2 separate regions of the Homo sapiens genome follow, and region 1 is linked to region 2. Evidence: promoter capture Hi-C in 16 types of primary human blood cells and fetal thymus (Javierre and others, 2016). All regions are on one chromosome and are shown on one strand. Each heading gives the region's core, a stretch centred on a gene start or on the middle of the fragment in contact. The rest is flanking DNA. Distances are from core to core; before and after follow the strand shown.

Region 1 (4,218 bases), core at 258-2,757, 270 kb before region 2:
AAAAGAGAGAGAGACTCTGTCTCAAAAATAAAATAAAATAAAATAAAAATAAGAAAAAGAAAAAGGAGAGAGATACCAAACAAACCCAGAAAAAAACAGGAATGTCAGGCTTTAGGAAGAGGCTTAAAGGATCTTTGAGAACATTTTCTGACTTTCAGGCAAAGCCTGTGATCCAGTTTGTGTAGCTACACATAAGGACCCTCTCTTAACTACAACCCAGTGAGATTCATCATATACACATTTAACGTACCTGCTGACTTCAGGCCTAAACCCTTGTGTAATGAGGCTCAACCTAAAGGGTCAATGTCAAAGAGCATGAAAGTTACAGATATTTAATGAAGCCTCCACAAAAAATGCCAACTAGGAAAGACAGGAAGCAGACAGCCAAGTGCTTCTCTCTAACTTCTTAAAAAACAGCATGAATGAGTCTGAACAAGCAAGATTTAGATTAAAATCCAGCAAAATTAACAGAACACTTACTAAATGCCAGGGTAGATGCTAAGCTTTCACTTTTGTCAATTTATTTAAGCTTCACAATACACATACTTATTACCATGTATTAAGGTTATGTAGGTGCAATATTTTAACAGAATGGAGTAAGTTCTGACAGCAAATAAAACTTTAAAAAATTCCTCACTCACTCTCCATTGACTTAATGATATGTTGTCTTAAAGTCAGAATGATTTGAATATCCAGACATTTCCATAAAATCTTTTCTTTTGTTCCTTCTTTAATCCAGCTCAATGTTTTCTCAAATTTTAGTGTGCCTAAGAATTACTTATATGGAGTAGTAATAATTATAAGAATAGGTAAACTTAGCTTACTATGTGTCAGGCCCTGTCCTAAGTACTTCACATAATTACCCTTGAAAATCCATTAAGTTGTCCATAAAATACAACAAATATCATTTTATGTGTACAAGCTGTATTTCCTTGAGCAAGTTCTTTAACCTCTCTGTGTCTCAGGCTCTACATCAGTAAAAAAGATAATAATTGTAGATAGCCTCATAGGGTTGTTGTGGGAAATGAACAGTATTTGTAAAGCACTTTGAGTGGTTACTTTGATAGCTGAGTGGCAGAATCAGAAATAAAATCCAAATATGTCTTTTCCATTGCACCAAGAGAGTTCAAGACTTACAGCACAGGCTGGGCATGGTGGCTCACACCAGTAATCTCAGCACTTTGGGAGGCTAGGCAGGAGGATTGCTTGAGCCCAGGAGTTGGAGACTAGTCTGGACAACATAGTGAGATGCTAGCTCTACAAAAATTTAAAAAATTAGCCAGGTGTGGTGGCGTGCACCTGTAGTCCCAGCTACTGGGGAGGCTAAGGTGTGAGGATCACTTGAATCCGGGAGGTGGAGGCTACAGTGAGCCATGATCACGTCACTGCACTCCAGCCTGGGCAACAGAGCAAGGCTCTGTCTCACAAAAACAAAAACAAAAAAATCCCAAGAAACAAAAAATGTAAGCACAGCCCAATGTGAACTATATTGGAGAAAGAAAAATCCTCCTAAAAGTCATGAAAAGGAGCGATTATATTTCTGGTCGGGCTCCAGCGATCCTCCCACCCCAGCCTCCTGAGTAGCTGGGACTAGAGATGCGTGCCACCACACCTGGTTAATTTTTGTATTTTTTGTGGAGATGGGGTTTTGCCATGTTGACCAGGCTGGCTGGTTTTGAACTCCTGGGCTCAAGTGATCTGCCTGTCTCAGCCTCTCAAAGTGCTGGGATTACATGCGTGAGCCACTGTGTCCGGCCTTAATTCAATCTTTTAACAATTATTCAAGCACCTATTATATACTAGGCATTCTTACACATGCAAAGGTTGTTGTGGCAATTAAGAGAACTCTAGTAGGGTAAGAGAGAAAATAAACAAACATATAAATCAGTAAGATGAATTCAGATGGTACTAAGTGTGATGAATATATGTTATTTATTTTTATTTTTTGAGACAGTGTATTACTGTGTCACCCAGGCTGGAGTGCAGTGGCGCAATCTCAGCTCACTGCAACGTCCACCTCCCAGGTTCAAGTAATTCTCTGCCTCAGTCTCTCAAGTAGCTGGGGTTCGAAGCACACATCACTGCACCTGGCTAATTTTTGTATTTTTAGTTGAGACGGGGTTTTGCCATGTTGGCCTTGGCCTCCCAAAGTGCTGGGATTACAGGCATGAGCCACCATACCTGGCCTGGATATACTTTAGATATAGTGGTCAGGGAAAGCCGCTCTGAGGAATTAATATTTGAGGTGAAATCTGAATGCTGAGAAGTAGCAAGTTACATAAAGATGTGAAGGAAAAGCATTTCAGGCATATGGAATAATGAGTATAAAAATAACAGGCCTGATAATGCCAAAGAAACAGAATGAAAGCCAATGTGGTTAGAGCATTGTGATGAAGGGGACAGAGTAAGATGAGCAAGATGGGCTCAGGGAGGTGAGCAGAGGCCAGATCCTAAGGGTGTTTTACAGGTCATGGCAAGAAGCTTCATGGGGCCAGGAATTGTGTTGGTCTTATTCACTGCTATATTATTTTCCCAGTGTCTAGAACATTTCTGTCATATAGTAGGCATTCAATATTTGCTTGAAAATATGACTGAATTAATGAATAGTTCCTAGTTCTGCCCTCTGGTACTTCAAAGCATGAGTTTACTCCATCATCTAAAGCAGAGGTCAGCAATCTTTTCTGTAAAGGCTCAGATAGTAAATATTGTAGGTCTTGCAGGCCATATGGTCTATATCACTACTACTCAATTCTACCATTGAATCACTAGAGCAAACATAAGCAATACATAAGTGAGTATGCTGTGTTCCCATAAAACTTTACTTATAAAAACAGGTGGCAATAAATTTGAATTTAAAGCTCATATGGGCCAGGTGTGGTGGCTCACGCCTGTAATCCCAGCACTTTGGGAGGCTGAGTTGGGCTGATCATTTGAGGTCAGGGGTTTGAGACCAGCCTGGCCAACATGGTGAAACCCCATCTCTACTAAAACACAAAAAAAATTAGCTGGGTGTCATCATGCATGCCTGTAATCCCAGCTACACAGGAGGCTGAGGCAGGAGAATCGCTTGAAACCAGGAAGTGGAGGTTGCGGTGAGCCAAGATCATGCCACTGCACTCCAGCCTGGGCAACAGAGTGAGACTCTGTCTCAAAAAATTTTTTTCAAATTAAAATAAAATAAAGCTCATATGGAAATACCAGAGACCCAGAATAGACAAAACAATCTTGAAAAATGAACAAAGTTGAAAGACTCATACTTCCCAATTTTATAACTTACTACAATGCTACAGCAATCAAAACAGTGTGGTACTGGCATAAGAATAGACATTTAGATCAATGGACTAGAGTTGAGAGTTCATAAATACATCCTTAAATTTACAGTCAATTGATTTCTGATAAGAGTATCAAGACAGGCTGGGAACAGGGGCTTGTACCTATAATCCCAGCTATTTGGGAGACTAAGACAGGAAGATCACTTGAGACTAAGAGTTTGAGACCAGCCTGTGCAACATAGCCAGACTCCGTCTCTTAAAAAAAAAAGAGTGTCAAGCAATTAAGTAGAAGGAAAGAATAGTCTTTTTAGCACATGGTGCCAGGACAAGTGGATGTCCACATGTAAAAGAATGAAGTTGGATCCTTACCTCACACCATACATAAAAATTAATTCAAATGGATCAAAGACCTACATATAAAATCTAAAACTACAAAACTCTTAGAAGAAAACACAGGTGTATATATTCATGACCTTGGATTAGGCAATGTTTTTTAAGACACAACACCAAAAGCACCAGCAACAAAAGAAAAAAAGTTTAGTTGGGCATGGTGGTGTGCGCCTGCAGTCCCAGCTACTCAAGAGGGTGAGATGGGAGGATTGCTTGAGCCTGGGAGGGTAAGGCTGCAGTAAGCCATGACTGTGCCACTGCACTCCAGTGAGGGTTACAGAGACAGATCCCATATCAATTAAAAAAAAAAAATAAAACATAAATTGAATTTCATTAAAATTAAAACTTTTATGCAAAGTCACCATTTAAAAATGAAAAGACAACACACAAAGGAAAAGAAACAAAATTTCAAATCATACATATCTTATAACTCAACAATAAAAAAGGACAACCCAATTAAAAAATGAGTGAAGCATCTCAACAGACATTTCTCCAAAGAAAATACACAAATATGACAACAAGCACATGAAAACATGCTCAACATCATTAGTCATTA
Region 2 (3,786 bases), core at 146-2,645:
GAAAGGAGCTGGGTCTGCATAGGTACAGTGGAAAAAACATGCACCACAGATTCTATAGCCCTGGTTGAGGACCAGGGCCTTACTAGTTTGCTGTGTGACAGTCGGGTAATCACAAAGCCTCTCTGAGCAGATCTCTCCTTCCCTAAATTGGCTATGCTGTACATCAACGCTCATCATGCTGTGGTTTGCGAGGCCAATCAACAGTGTCTTAGAAAGCCTTTACTTTAGGGCCGGGCACAGTGGCTCACGCCTGTAATCCCAGCACTTTGGGGGTCGAGGTGGGTGGATCACAAGGTCAGGAGTTCAAGACCAGCCTGGCCAATATGGTGAAACCCCCGTGTCTACTAAAAACACAAAAAAATTAGCCGGGCTTGGTGGCGCATGCCTGTAATCCCAGCTAATCGGGAGGCTGAGGCAGGAGAATTGCTTGAACCCGGGAGGCGGAGCTTGCGGTAAGCCAAGATCGCGCCACTACACTCCAGCCTGGGTGACAAAGCGAGACTCTGTCTCGAGAAAAAAAAAAAAAAAAAAAAAAAAAAAGGCCTTTACCTTGGTATGCAGAGTTTATTATTATTATTAATTTTTTTTTTTTTGAGGCGGAGTCTCGCTCTGTCGCCCAGGCTGGGGTGCAGTGGCGCAATCTCGGCTCACTGCAAGCTCCGCCTCCCGGGTTCACGCCATTCTCCTGCCTCAGCCTCCCGAGTAGCTGGGACTACAGGCGCCCGCCACACACCCGGCTAATTTTTTGTATTTTTAGTAAAGACGGGGTTTCACCGTGTTAGCCAGGATGGTCTCGATCTCCTGACCTTGTCATCCGCCCACCTCGGCCTCCCAAAGTGCTGGGATTACAGGCGTGAGCCACCGCGCCGGGCCCAGAGTTGTTTATTATACCTTTCCTAGGCTCTGGAAAACTGCCAGAGCATGAGCAGTGCTGTGCAGAGTTGATCACGTGGCTCAATCTCTTTGGGCTTCTGAAAATAGCAGGACAAGGCTAGGTGACTTCTCAATTTCTTCCAGCGCTAAAAAAAAAAAACAGAAACCTGGAATTTCTCAGTGGTCTGACTCTGCTACAAACTCCGCAGGTCACTTCCCTCCCTCCTGACCCTGGCGGGGCGGGGTGGGCGCTGTCCCTTTAAGTCCAGGCCCGGGCCAATCACAGTGAACAGAAGTTCTTTAAGGACCAAAGGAGGGAATTCAGCCTGAGAAGGAGGGCGGGGCAGGGGCGTGCCCTCTAGCCAATCGGAATCTCCCTAGAGAACAGTGACTCACGTGCAAAGCTCTACAGACCAGTGTCCGGAGCGTTCAGAGGCGGGGCGGCTCTCGCTGTTGGCAGCGGCCCGGACCAATGGGCACGTCGCCCGCGGCCTATAAGAGTCCGCTGGGCCGCGGGCTGCAGGCGCTAGGGTCGGTTAGTCGTCGCCGTCTGAGGTGTTCCCTGGCTTTGTCTCGCCGTCGTTGCCGCCCCGTCCCTGCCTTCGTGCCCCCCGCCTTGGCCCCTGCCCAGCCGCTCTCCCTGTCCTCCTCCCCTTAACCACCCCCACGGTTTCTGCCGTCGGGGCCCGGGGGCCGGGCGGATGATGCCGTCGGAGAGCGGAGCTGAGCGCAGGGACCGGGCGGCTGCTCAGGTGGGGACGGCTGCGGCCACGGCGGTGGCCACGGCAGCCCCGGCAGGCGGCGGCCCCGACCCGGAGGCCTTATCGGCCTTCCCCGGACGGCACCTGAGTGGGCTGAGCTGGCCACAGGTGAAGCGACTGGACGCTCTTCTGAGCGAGCCGATTCCCATTCACGGGCGCGGCAACTTCCCCACGCTGAGCGTGCAGCCCCGGCAGATCGTGCAGGTGAGAGGACGCCAGGCGGGGGATGTGGGGGAATCCCTTCTGAGGCTCTCGTGGCTGGAAGGCATTTGTAGTCTGTTTGACTTTCTAGACAGCTAGGGAAACTGAGGAACGGGGACATGGCTGTAACAATTGCACAGCATTATGAATGGTAGACCAGACCTCCCCCTGCATCTACTAATCCTTCCCCACCTGGCTTTTCCATCTCGACTCTTGGAGAACCCTGATTCCCCACGGATCACTCACCCAGGGCCTGGCTGGGAGAGGGGAGGAGGATGTCAAGGGCATTGGGGGAAGAATTTGTCTCTGCCTGCAAGGACAAAAGACGCCAGGTGGCCCTGGGTGGGTAAGTGTGCATGCTTGAGTCCAAAATAGCTTTTCCTTCCCTATCTGGGCATCCCTGGACCTCACCCTCCTTTCCTCTCTCGAGGTTCTAGGAGCAGCCTCTGCCATTGTGCTCCTACAGCCTTTTGCTGGAGAAACCCCCCCTTCCCCCTCCACCCCGTGGAAAAGCCAAGAAAACTTGTCAGGGACTCCCTCTCTCTCAGCTGGGGTTGTGGCCCAATATTTATTAAGCCGAAGGTCAGACCTGATACCCCACCCCCAAGGGCAACATTAAGTGACCAATTTAGGTGTTTCTTCTCCTTCCCAAGATTGGAAATGAAGGCCAACCCAGGCCTCAGGCCCCACGTCCTCTCTCTCCTGAGGAAAGGGAGAAGAGAATTCTGACAGCCCCTCCCTCCTCCAACTCTTCCCTTTATCTGAACCTCAACGACCCCAAGACTGCTTTTTCATCTGTACAGCCCAGACGCTGTCATGTTCTGAAATACCACAGTGTGGTCATTATTGTACCCATTTTATAGCTGGGGCAGTTTGCCACCCAAGATTACTTAATGAGGTGAAAATCAAACCTAGGGAATTTTGGGTCTTCCCAGGAGCAGATTACAGTAGGTTCAATGTTTTCCCACCCCTTCCCCGGCTCCCAAGGTCAACTTCTAGGTGTTAGGGAGGGTCCTTTGATAAAAGAAACCAAGAAACCCAGCGAGGACTCCTGTGCGTTCCTGCCAACTGATGGCTTCCTTTGGATGAAGTAGGCCTTTCCCCTGCCTCCTACTACCTTGGCTTCCCACAGAGGGGGAGGGTTGCCTGCTGGGGGATTACCTCCCCCACCCTCCCAAGGAACTAGGAACTGGAGGGGGCGGGGGCAGATTCTCCTTGGCTGACTCACACGCGGCCCAGTGGAGTTCGCCGAGGCATTCCTCGGCTGCTCGCTGTCACCTGGGTGATTAGGAAACCAGTCGAGGCTTTAATCCCCGGGACAGTCAAGTCATTCCTGGGGCCCCAGCTGCTGCACCTCCAGGATTGTGGCCCCAGGCATGGCAGGGAGGGGAAGGTGGAGCCCAGTGTGGCAGCCCCCCTCTGCAAGAACAAGGGATACCCTGGAAGGAGGAGAAGTCCTTGCCCTGTCAGTATGGCTCAGATTGCCTCTTGGTGTCTGCTCTGTGCCAAGCCCTGTTTAGGAAACCAAGGGCACAGATGTGACTAGGACTCAGCCTCCATCCCTTCAGGTGCTCCTAGCCAGATGGGGGAGACTCCAGGTCAATAGAAGCTAACTTTACAATGCAATGGTGGTGCCATGTCCTTCTAGACCTGGGTCAGAGATAGCACAGAACAGGGAGCTGTCGGCGATGGTGAGGAAGGGCAGCAGAGACTTCAGAGCTGGGCTGGGAAGTTGGACTTCTGGATTCAGGCCCTGGACTGTTTGTTGTCAATTCTCTTTGCTGGGCTCAGTGTCCCCATCTGTTCAACTGGGATGGATAGATTAGGCTGCTGCTCTCCAACACCCTCTCTGGTTCCAGACTCCAAAGGGGACAGGTGCCTTCACCTGGTCTGTACAGCTGCCTCCACAGCGAAGAAAGTTTCTTGGAAGAAATCCACAGCTGGCAGCTTC

Evidence for each region. The method cuts DNA at HindIII sites, captures the fragments that hold promoters and counts their contacts. A CHiCAGO score of 5 or more calls a contact.
Region 1: a fragment that was not itself captured here is called in contact with the fragment with the promoter of TENT5B in region 2 in 3 of 17 cell types (endothelial precursors, M0 macrophages and M1 macrophages); the score reaches 7.0 in endothelial precursors.

Annotation. Positions count from the first base shown.
Region 1 is chr1:27,276,791-27,281,008 of GRCh38, reverse strand. All of the region lies in intron 3 of WDTC1 (WD and tetratricopeptide repeats 1), which reads right to left. Among named protein-coding and RNA genes, the nearest start is that of TMEM222, 43 kb to the left of the region's middle. The HindIII fragment of the contact is 1,952 bases long and covers 532-2,483 here.
Region 2 is chr1:27,010,459-27,014,244 of GRCh38, reverse strand. TENT5B (terminal nucleotidyltransferase 5B) reads left to right here and starts at 1,395. Exons shown (of 2, transcript NM_052943.4): 1 at 1,395-1,838. The coding sequence starts at 1,575. RefSeq lists enhancers at 841-1,495, 1,496-2,149. The HindIII fragment of the contact is 29,862 bases long and covers 1-3,786 here.